Regions from separate parts of the Homo sapiens genome. Here regions 1 and 3 are each linked to region 2. The links are contacts of gene promoters, found by promoter capture Hi-C in blood cells and fetal thymus (Javierre and others, 2016). All regions are on one chromosome and are shown on one strand. Each heading gives the region's core, a stretch centred on a gene start or on the middle of the fragment in contact. The rest is flanking DNA. Distances are from core to core; before and after follow the strand shown. Region 1 overlaps BSDC1 (BSD domain containing 1). Region 2 holds the start of KHDRBS1 (KH RNA binding domain containing, signal transduction associated 1). Region 3 holds the start of HCRTR1 (hypocretin receptor 1).

Region 1 (3,129 bases), core at 283-2,782, 360 kb after region 2:
GCTCCATTACTCAAGCTGGGTCGCTGTAAATTCATGGGTGTTCATTATTTCTTCTTTAAACTGTAGGTATGAGTTTTGTTTATATATTTCATAATAACGAAGGCTTGGGGAAGCTGAATGACTTTCCTAAGGTTACACAGGAAGAAGACCCTTAACATCAATGTCACTGGGATTCCCAAGCCAGGGTAAGGTTAAATTGTCCAAAAAGATAGAAATTGGCACAGTGTGCTAGTTAAGGGCATGGGCTTGGAGTCAGACAGCCCTGGGTCTGAATCTGGGCCTCCTGGCCATGTGAACTTGGGCAAGTTACCTAATATTTTTGGGCCTCACTTTTTTTCATTTGTAAAATGAGGACAATAATACTGAGAAATTAGGTGCCATATAACATATTTAGCATGGGATCTGGCATCAAACTTGTTTTGTTGACTCTTAAGATGCCAACAATTGAAGATGCATTCTTATTTCAGAGATGTTGTGCAACTTAGAATGAAATATGTTAGCAAATAGTCAATATATAGCAGCTGTCATCATTATCAGAAACGAAAAAAAATCTGCTCATAGTATCCTAACAAGGGACAAGGAGACAAATCTGCCTCAGGAGGTGGCCCTGACCGCACACAACCCTCTGGGCTTGGACCTCCAGACCTACCTTTCTTTCCATTGTTGGAGGGTGTAGACTTCCCACTATCCGAGTTCAGCTCAAACACCCGTAAGTCTGTGGGCGCCTCCTCCCTCAGAGTCTCTACTCTGGCTGGAGGCCTGGGCTCTGGGCCGCCGGTGTGGCCAGCAGGCGTTAGGGGCTTGGAGTGAATAGGGGGTGAGGGTCCAGTCTCACCCACATCCACAGCCAGGCCCTGTTCCTCCAAGGATGCCTCTAGCAGCTTTTGGGACAGGTCCTTGGGTAGCACTCGTGCCTCAGGTGCAGTGGCCGGGTTGGCGATCTGTGTCACGAGGGAGATGCTCTCACTGCTCTCTGATGGAGTCACCTCTGCTGGGGGCTCAACTGAAGTCACCAGATTCTCTTCACAGGGGCTCTGGGGGCCAGGTTCTCCTTCAGGGAATGTAGAAATTTTGGCCACAGGAACCTTTGCCTCTTTTGGAGATATGGGTGAAATGCCCATGAGCTCCTCTGTAGAGAGAGAAAGGGAGGGGCAAGAGGGAAATGTAACCTGGCCAGCCATAAGACAACCTTGGAGCTCTCAAGTTCCTGCCAAAGTGTACTCTGATCAAGACTCAAGCCGGGCATGGTGGCTCACACCTGTAATCCCACCACTTTGGGAGGATGAGGCGGGTGGATCACCTGAGGTCAGGAGTTTTTGAGACCAGCCTGGCCAACACGGTGAAACCCCATCTCTACTAAAAATACAAAAAATATTAGCTGGGTGTGGTGGCACGTGCCTGTAATCCCAGCTACTTGGGAGGCTGAGGCAGGAGAATCGCTTGAACCCGGGAGGCGGTGGTTGCAGTGGGCGGAGATTGCGCCACTGCACTCCAGCCTGGATGACAGAGTGAGACTCTGCCTCAAAACGAAAAAAAAAAGACTCAATAGTGTCATTCAGCTCACCCCTTCGCCATCACAACGCTTCTGCAGACAGTCCCTGCTAGTCAAAGTCCTGTTTAGCCCTGGGGCCTAATGCCTGGTGGGCTTCCAGCAATGCAGTCCAAGGGGCTGTTATGGATTAGAAAGCCAAGGCTCAGAAGTGAGTCAGTTTTGGGTTCAGGTTGGACTCTGCTACATCCTAGGTGTATGATTGGGCAAGCCACCTAACTTTTAACTTACTCTTAACTTACTTTTATCCTTAAGAGGGGTAATGGGGTTGTGGTAAGGACTCTGTGTAGAGCTCTTAGGGCAGCCTGGACATATGGTGTAAACAAGAAATGCGTTAATATTATATCATCCAGAAGGCTTCAACATGCTGTTCTAAGCTGAGCTACAGGTAGAAGATGCTCAGCTCCCTCCCTAACTCAGTGGTTCCCAAACCAGCCTGGGCATTAATATTACCAGGGAACTTGTTTAAAATACATGTCTGGCCGCATCTTTACAGTCTTCTTTAGAAGGTGGGGAAAGGAATCTGGATTTTCAAGAAGCTCCCCAGTGACTAAGCGGCAGCTGGTTCATGGGCTGGCAGGGGAATCTACACCAACTGACACATGTGATTTCTGTAGCTAAATCGGAATTCCACTAGCCTTGTTCAATATCCCCTTGTTAGCTCCGCCTATCCTCACACATACAATGTGCTTGTTCCCTACTCTTCCCTGATGGGCACCAAGTCTCTCCAGGCTTCAGAGAGCATGGCCCAGCCCAGAGCGTCCCGCACAGATGTGACACTTGCCCCTCACCTCTCAACGCCTCTTACCTTCCTCCTCCTCCCAGCCGGGCTCTTCAGAGATGCTCTGTTCCGCCCGCTGCTTCAGGGCGTCCCTCCGGGCCTGCTCCTGAATGTGGGGGAGCAGAAGGCCACAGGCAGTCAGGGCACCCTCTTCCTAGACCCTGGTCCTGATCCCACAACTCTTGGCACCCTGTATCCCTTTCTTCTCTCAATAAATCCAGCCTGCTTCCCCCAGGGTTGAGTGGGGACCTCCCCATGCTAGACCAGCATACCTGCTCTAACTGATGGACTTTATAGAAATACCGATGCCAGAATTCTGAATGGGAAACAGCTGCTGGAACCTGGAGGGAGGGGAAAATGGAGGTGAGACTTTGGGAGTGTTTGTGTGGGGTCTGTGTCCCCAGCCTTATCAGTCTATTCCCAGCCAGTCTGGATTTCAGACCCAGTAAGTGGCTTAGCAGTGACAGTCAGAGCACTTCCACCCCCACCAAAGTTTCAGCCAGACCCACCTTCCTAGTCCGGGTTGGCCAAGGAGTGAGAAAAGAACTCCCATCAGGCTTTGCTGGCCCTTCCATTTCTCACCATTCTCTGATTGCCAGAAGCCTGGCAAACCAGCTTCTCCCATGTGGGGTCTTGGCTCAGGACACAGCTGGTCTGGCTCTATGGAGCCTCCCAGTGCTCTCCGGGCCAGATGACTCTGCAGTGACTCTGAACATGTCCCTCCCACCTCCCAACACCTCAAGCCTGGAGCTGGCTGAGGCCCTGCAGGCTGGGCCCTCACCATCTTGGTGTAGAGGGC
Region 2 (2,800 bases), core at 16-2,515:
ACAGGCATAAGCCACCGCACCGGTCCCCAAAGACTTTTGAAAAGTGTGGGCTCATTAGGAGAACTAATCCAGAAGGAAAAGAGATGGGAGTGAGTGCTTTAAATGGAAGAAGAAAATAATCTGCGGAGGGAAGGGAAAGTTAGAGAGGGCACCAGGCTTTTGATGGCTTATGGGACAAGTAGGGACCTAAGGCTCCACTTGCATATAGCACACCAGGATGTGGAGAACGTCGTAGGCGACTGTCCACTATGTACCTTGCCTTTGAGAGTAGTGGCAAGGGTCTCTTTGAGCAAGTCTGGAGTGGTAGAAGAAGCCATCCTAATGATGCAACCAACGTGGATTAAGGATCTGGTCTCTACCTCACTTTTTGAAGGAAGAAACACTTAATTGGCAATAATGACGGCGAAACAAAACAAACACAATTCAGAAAAAGCAGTAAAATATGTAAAAAGAGCTAAAATGCTGCTTAAGATTTCCCGTACCAACAATGTCAACCGTTTTAGAACCGACTGGAATATATGTAATACTGGAAATATATATACTGGAAACAACTTCTTGTGTTCCCTGATGTCTGGGACCCTTTTCTTTGCTAGACTTCAGATCTCTGATCTGAACCATCCCTCTTAGTTCAAGTACTCCAATCGCCTTCAGTGTTTCCACCAAGCCGTCCTTCCTCAATTTCTCCCTCCAGGTTTCCCTTCCCCAACTTTCCCCCTGCATCAGACTCTCCCTCAGCCTTCCTTTCTCCCTGTGCAGTCTGTCTCACTCCTGTCTTCCTCCCCAGGCGGTCTCAATTCTCTCTCCCTCCCCTTTCCGTGACCCTCTCGGCAGTCTTTTACTTCCTTACTTCGGTGACCGCCCCCCACCCCACTCCCCACAGCCTCCCTCCACTGCTCAGCCGTTGGAGAGGGCGTGGCCCCGCGAGTAACAGGTCTCCCGCCCCACACTCCGCGGGCCCGCGCGCAGACAAAGACATTCCACAGCTCCCGCCCCCTCCACGCCAGAAAGGGGAGGAGACACGTGTTCCGCTAGCGCCGAGTCACGTGGAAAACGAAACGAACGGAGCCCACTGCCTCCCGCGCATGCGCATCAAGCTCTGGCCTGGCGGGAGCGGAGGGAAAGCCAGAGTCGGGAGGCGACTTCTCGGACGCCGCGGCGGTGCGCAGGCGCCGTGGCCGGACTGGGGACTTTGTTCTCCGCGGAGAAACCCAAGGGCGGTGCCGGTGGCTGGCTGCGCACGCGCGCCGCCTCATTTCCGGTGCTCTCTCTCGCTGGGTCGCTCGGGTCGGCTTCGGTCGCTACCGCTCCCGCTCTGCCACCCCCGCCAACCGCCGCTCGGGCCTCCGTCGCTGCCGCGTCGCTTTCTCGCTCCTTGGATCGCACATCCTCCCAGATGCAGCGCCGGGACGACCCCGCCGCGCGCATGAGCCGGTCTTCGGGCCGTAGCGGCTCCATGGACCCCTCCGGTGCCCACCCCTCGGTGCGTCAGACGCCGTCTCGGCAGCCGCCGCTGCCTCACCGGTCCCGGGGAGGCGGAGGGGGATCCCGCGGGGGCGCCCGGGCCTCGCCCGCCACGCAGCCGCCACCGCTGCTGCCGCCCTCGGCCACGGGTCCCGACGCGACAGTGGGCGGGCCAGCGCCGACCCCGCTGCTGCCCCCCTCGGCCACAGCCTCGGTCAAGATGGAGCCAGAGAACAAGTACCTGCCCGAACTCATGGCCGAGAAGGACTCGCTCGACCCGTCCTTCACTCACGCCATGCAGCTGCTGACGGCAGGTAAGGGGGCCTCCCGTGTCCCTCTGGGTCGCCCGGCCATCCCGGGCATGAGTGGCCCTGGCTTTGTTCCTCTCGCTTCCCGCCCCCTCGGGACCGAGGCAGTCGGGAGTTCCGGTCTCATCCTCATTTTTGGGAGCCTGGATTCCACATTCCCACCTCAGCCCGGAGTGCGTGGGAGAATTTCTAGGCTGCAGTGGAGGCCCGAAGGCGACTTTGCGATCCCCTAGCGCTAATGTCTTGATGGATAGTGCTGAGCTCCCCGCCCCTTTCCCGACTCTTCCCTCCTCCCTCCTCTTGCGGCTGCCGGGCGCGCAGATTCTTCCAGAAATGAACCTTCATTTCCCCCTTTCCCTGAAGGGAAACCCTTTTTGATCGCGGGTGGCGATGAGCGCCTCGACCGAGGTGTAGGAGGTGAAGACAGCCAGAGCGGGGAGGGACCGTGGGAGGAAGGGCCGAGGTGAGGTGGGGTGAGGCTGGAATGCCCTGTCCAGTGCCTTGCTGTCGCTGGGGCCGAGCCGGACTTAGCGGTAACCGCAGCTTAAGTTGCTGGGAGGAAGGAGCGATTTATGTGGATCGGAGCTTGAGGTTTCCGAATCAGATTTCCGACTAAGGCTGATAAAATAAGAATTGCTACTGAGCCATTTTACACCGTGTGTTCACTGTCGTTGAAGGAGTGAAGTAACCCTAGAGACAGTGAAATGGGACGATAGGGACTCCCGCGTAGTTCACATGACGTTTCCCAACGAGATGGACAGAAATTGAGAGAAGTTGCATGATGCTTGTACTGAAAGGCTTGGCCTTTTTGTTGCTGTTTTTTACATTTTTGATTCAGTAGTGAAATAGATTAGAAATGAGAGTCTTTGTTCTGTAGGTTAGCGCTCTTTTCCTCATCAGCACTGGCCAATCACCTAGTCGCTCTGATTTTTCCCTAAAGCTGTCTGACTTTCGCTTCTAGTTAAAATATTATTTTAATATTTTTTATGATACCTAAATTTTACTAAGCAAGTAAAAATTCACATCCTTCA
Region 3 (3,229 bases), core at 730-3,229, 400 kb before region 2:
TCCACATATGCACACTCACAGAACCTTACACACAAAGGCATGGCCACACTCACATTCCCACACTCACAGGGAAACACGCTGGGAGGCCAGTGCTAGTCAAAGCCACAGTTGAACATTCAGATCCACACTGAGAAACAGTCATCTCCTCACACATACACATTCCCCATAGACACAAACGCCAAAACACAGGGACAGATCAAGACCCAGACAGACACATCCCACCCAGAGTGACCTCCAGTCATCAACCCAGAGCCCACCCCCTGCTCATATGCACAGTCAGACTCAAACACACTGGATTCCCTAGACACACACCACAGCCCTTACTTGAATTCAAGACTCAAACACAAACACACACTCATGCACACATATGCAGACATGCACACACCCACACATTCACACATGCACACACGCACACACACACACACACACACAGCAGCCCCTCTTCTGAGTCCCTTCACTCATTCTCCTACCTCGGCCAGCACCTAGGGAAGACAAGACATCACACACCATGCAGATGCCATACCTGCCCAAGGACAAAGTTCTGCCTTGGGTTTAGCTTCAGTCCATCCTCCTGTTCTGCAGAGGTTAAGGTCACTGGCCCCCTCCCTTATGCTGCTCCAGTTCCTCTCCCACACCTCCTATGCCTAACGGCGCATCTTCAGAGCCTTTGAAAAGGGCTTTGGCTGCAATGGGAAAGATGGTGGTTGCATCCCAGGAGTCACCTCCCAGGAGGGAAACAGTGTGAGTTTCAGAGGGTGACATGTTAGGAATGTCCTATGCTGAGCTAGGGGATGGCCAAGGTGACTGCATGATGCTCAGGCAGTCACCCTTCACCTACCTGTGATTTCCAGAATCCCCAACCTTCAAACCTTTGCACCTGCTGTTTCCTGACCTTGAATGCCTCTCCTCGAATACCACAATCCCCCTTGCAGGCTACCTTCTTATTCTTCAGGTCTCCATGGAGATGTCCCTGCTCCAGGAAGCCTGTTCTCATGCCCTGGCTGAGTCGGTCTGTCCTCCTGTGCCCCACAGCCCCCAGGGCCCTCACACCCTCCTCACACCACAGGTTAATTGCCTGGGTGTGCACCTGCCTCCCCCACCAGCCAGAGAGATTTTGCAGGGGAGGGAGACTGTGTCTGGTGAGAGAGGCTAGAGGCCTGAGAGGGGCAGAGGCTCAAAGCCCAGCTCTGCCTCTGCTGTGCGACCTTGGGCAAGTCATTGCGCCATGTGGATCCAGTGTCCTTATCTGTAAAATGGGGACAATAACGACCACCTCACCAGGTTGATATGAAGATTAAATGAGAGCAGGCATCATATGCATTATCCAAACGGTAGCTGTATTATTAGAACTCACTGCCTAGCACACAGCTTAATAAATCGTTATTTGTGGAATTAACGAACCCCCACTTCTGTCCCCACCGGCGTCCTTGATTTTTGGGGGGAACAGTAGGTATAACAAAAAGAGAAACTGGGGGCAGATAGGATGGGGGGCTGGGAGATGGGAGAACAGGCTTCTCTGGCATCGTTGGGAGCTAGCTGTTACAGCAGCATCCGGAGCTAGGCTGGAGGCGGTGCAGGCATCCTCTCTGTCTCACCCCTGTGACCCACCTGTGCCATCCTCCTCCTCAGTTAGGTGAGGCAGCAAGGAGAGGCGGGGCTGGGCTCCACCTCTGCACTGTGGCCCTCTGAAGCTGCCAGGCCCGCCGGCACACACTAAGTGCGCCCAGAATGCGGGGTGGCCAGGGGCATAAATGTTGAATGAATGAGGATGGAATGAATGAACGGATGGACGCATGAATGGAGGTGGGATGGAAGCTTGAAGTGGGAGGCTAGAAGGAACGAGCGTCTCCCTCCGCCCTGCGGGTCTCGGGGCTGGAAGACAGGGAGCCAAGACCGTCTGGGGGCTCCCACCCCGCCCTGCCCCTCCCGCCGGCCCTCCCTCCCCGCAGCGCGCAGCCCGGCGGAGCCCGCGCCGAGCCACAGCCCGCGCAGTTGCCGCGGATCGTGCTGAGCCCCGCGAGCCGAGGCAGCGCAGCCTAGGGAGGGGGCTGCCCCGGCCCCCTCCTGCAGTCCCGGCCCCTAGAGGCTCGGCCTTCCTCGCAGGAAGGCGAAGTCCCCGGTGCCAGGTCCGGGGACCAGCAGCCGAGAACGCCCGGGTCCCGGAGCCAACAGGTGCGGGGTGTGGGGGACCCCCAGGCCTGGGATGGGGGTTCCAAAGGACCCGCGGCGAGGGATGGGAGGAGCCAAGAGTCTCGGGGGGTAACCTGGGTGCTGGGAGACTGGCTCCTCGGCCAGCGCTGCTCTCCTCTAGGCAGGCTCCGAGTGCCCTCGCTCCCCCGCGCCTTCCCGGAGCCCCGCCAGCCCCCGAGGTGCAGGAAGGTCCCGCGGACGGAGCGGGCCTGCCGGCGTTCAGTGGGGTATGAAGGCGTCCCCTCCCCTTCCCCAGGGGTCTCCAGGGATCCGCAACCCTCCGGCACCTGGCCGGGGTCGTCCTAGCCCAGCCGGGGGAAGGAGGGGCTGAGTGCGGGAGGAGGGGAGGGGCGGGGAGCTGGGCTGGCTGGATTTATGAATGGAGAGCGACCCGCGCGCCGGAACAGCGGCTCCTGGCGGCCGTCGGGGAGCGTCGCGGCCCTGGGGACCCAAAGGGGCCTCTTAGGGGGCCTGGATGCTCCCCTTGCTCGCAAGGGGTCGTCAGTCCCTCCGCGCACCACCCCCACTGTGTGTGTGTTGTATGTGTGCGTGTCCGCGAGTGCCCACCGGAGGGTCTGGCAGGTATGGCGGGTGGGGCTTGGGTCTCTAACACCTCCCTTGGCCCGTTTTCCCAACCCAAAGTTAAAGCCTCTGAACTGGCTCAAGAAATATTTGCAATCGGGATGGCTTCTCCTCCCAAATCTACGGTGTTTGGTGGGTTCGAACAGACCTGGCTTAAGAGCTTTGTGACCTTGAGCAAGAGACTCAATCTCTCTGAGCTTCGGTCTCATCTGCAAAGCAGGGTACCCTAATAATGGTAACCGGAAACGTCCCCGAAACTACCTTCTCGTACCAGGTTCTTGGTGAAGCACTTGGCACGCATCGGAGCTCATTACTCCTCATCGTGGTCCTGTAAGGTATGTAGGGCTGTCACCCCATTAGACAGATGGGGAAACCAAGGCTGAAAGAGGCCAGGTAAGCTACCCAAGGCAACTGGTGTGGAATTGGGATGCAACCCAGGTCTGTCTTCCTCCACCAA

The links. The method cuts DNA at HindIII sites, captures the fragments that hold promoters and counts their contacts. A CHiCAGO score of 5 or more calls a contact.
Region 1: a fragment that was not itself captured here is called in contact with the fragment with the promoter of KHDRBS1 in region 2 in 2 of 17 cell types (naive CD4 T cells and non-activated CD4 T cells); the score reaches 5.7 in naive CD4 T cells.
Region 3: the fragment with the promoter of HCRTR1 here is called in contact with the fragment with the promoter of KHDRBS1 in region 2 in 2 of 17 cell types (total CD4 T cells and total B cells); the score reaches 5.8 in total CD4 T cells.

What each region holds. Positions count from the first base shown.
Region 1 is chr1:32,375,613-32,378,741 of GRCh38, forward strand. BSDC1 (BSD domain containing 1) reads right to left here. Exons shown (of 11, transcript NM_018045.8): 6 at 3,112-3,129; 7 at 2,603-2,671; 8 at 2,358-2,436; 9 at 650-1,129. Among named protein-coding and RNA genes, the nearest start is that of TSSK3, 15 kb to the left of the region's middle. The HindIII fragment of the contact is 3,585 bases long and covers 1-3,129 here.
Region 2 is chr1:32,012,603-32,015,402 of GRCh38, forward strand. KHDRBS1 (KH RNA binding domain containing, signal transduction associated 1) reads left to right here and starts at 1,266. Exons shown (of 9, transcript NM_006559.3): 1 at 1,266-1,775. The coding sequence starts at 1,394. RefSeq lists silencers at 1,475-1,684, 2,165-2,274 and an enhancer at 1,501-2,071. The HindIII fragment of the contact is 9,365 bases long and covers 1-2,800 here.
Region 3 is chr1:31,615,710-31,618,938 of GRCh38, forward strand. HCRTR1 (hypocretin receptor 1) reads left to right here and starts at 1,980. Exons shown (of 9, transcript NM_001525.3): 1 at 1,980-2,172; 2 at 3,047-3,107. RefSeq lists an enhancer at 1,896-2,585. The HindIII fragment of the contact is 12,367 bases long and covers 1,814-3,229 here.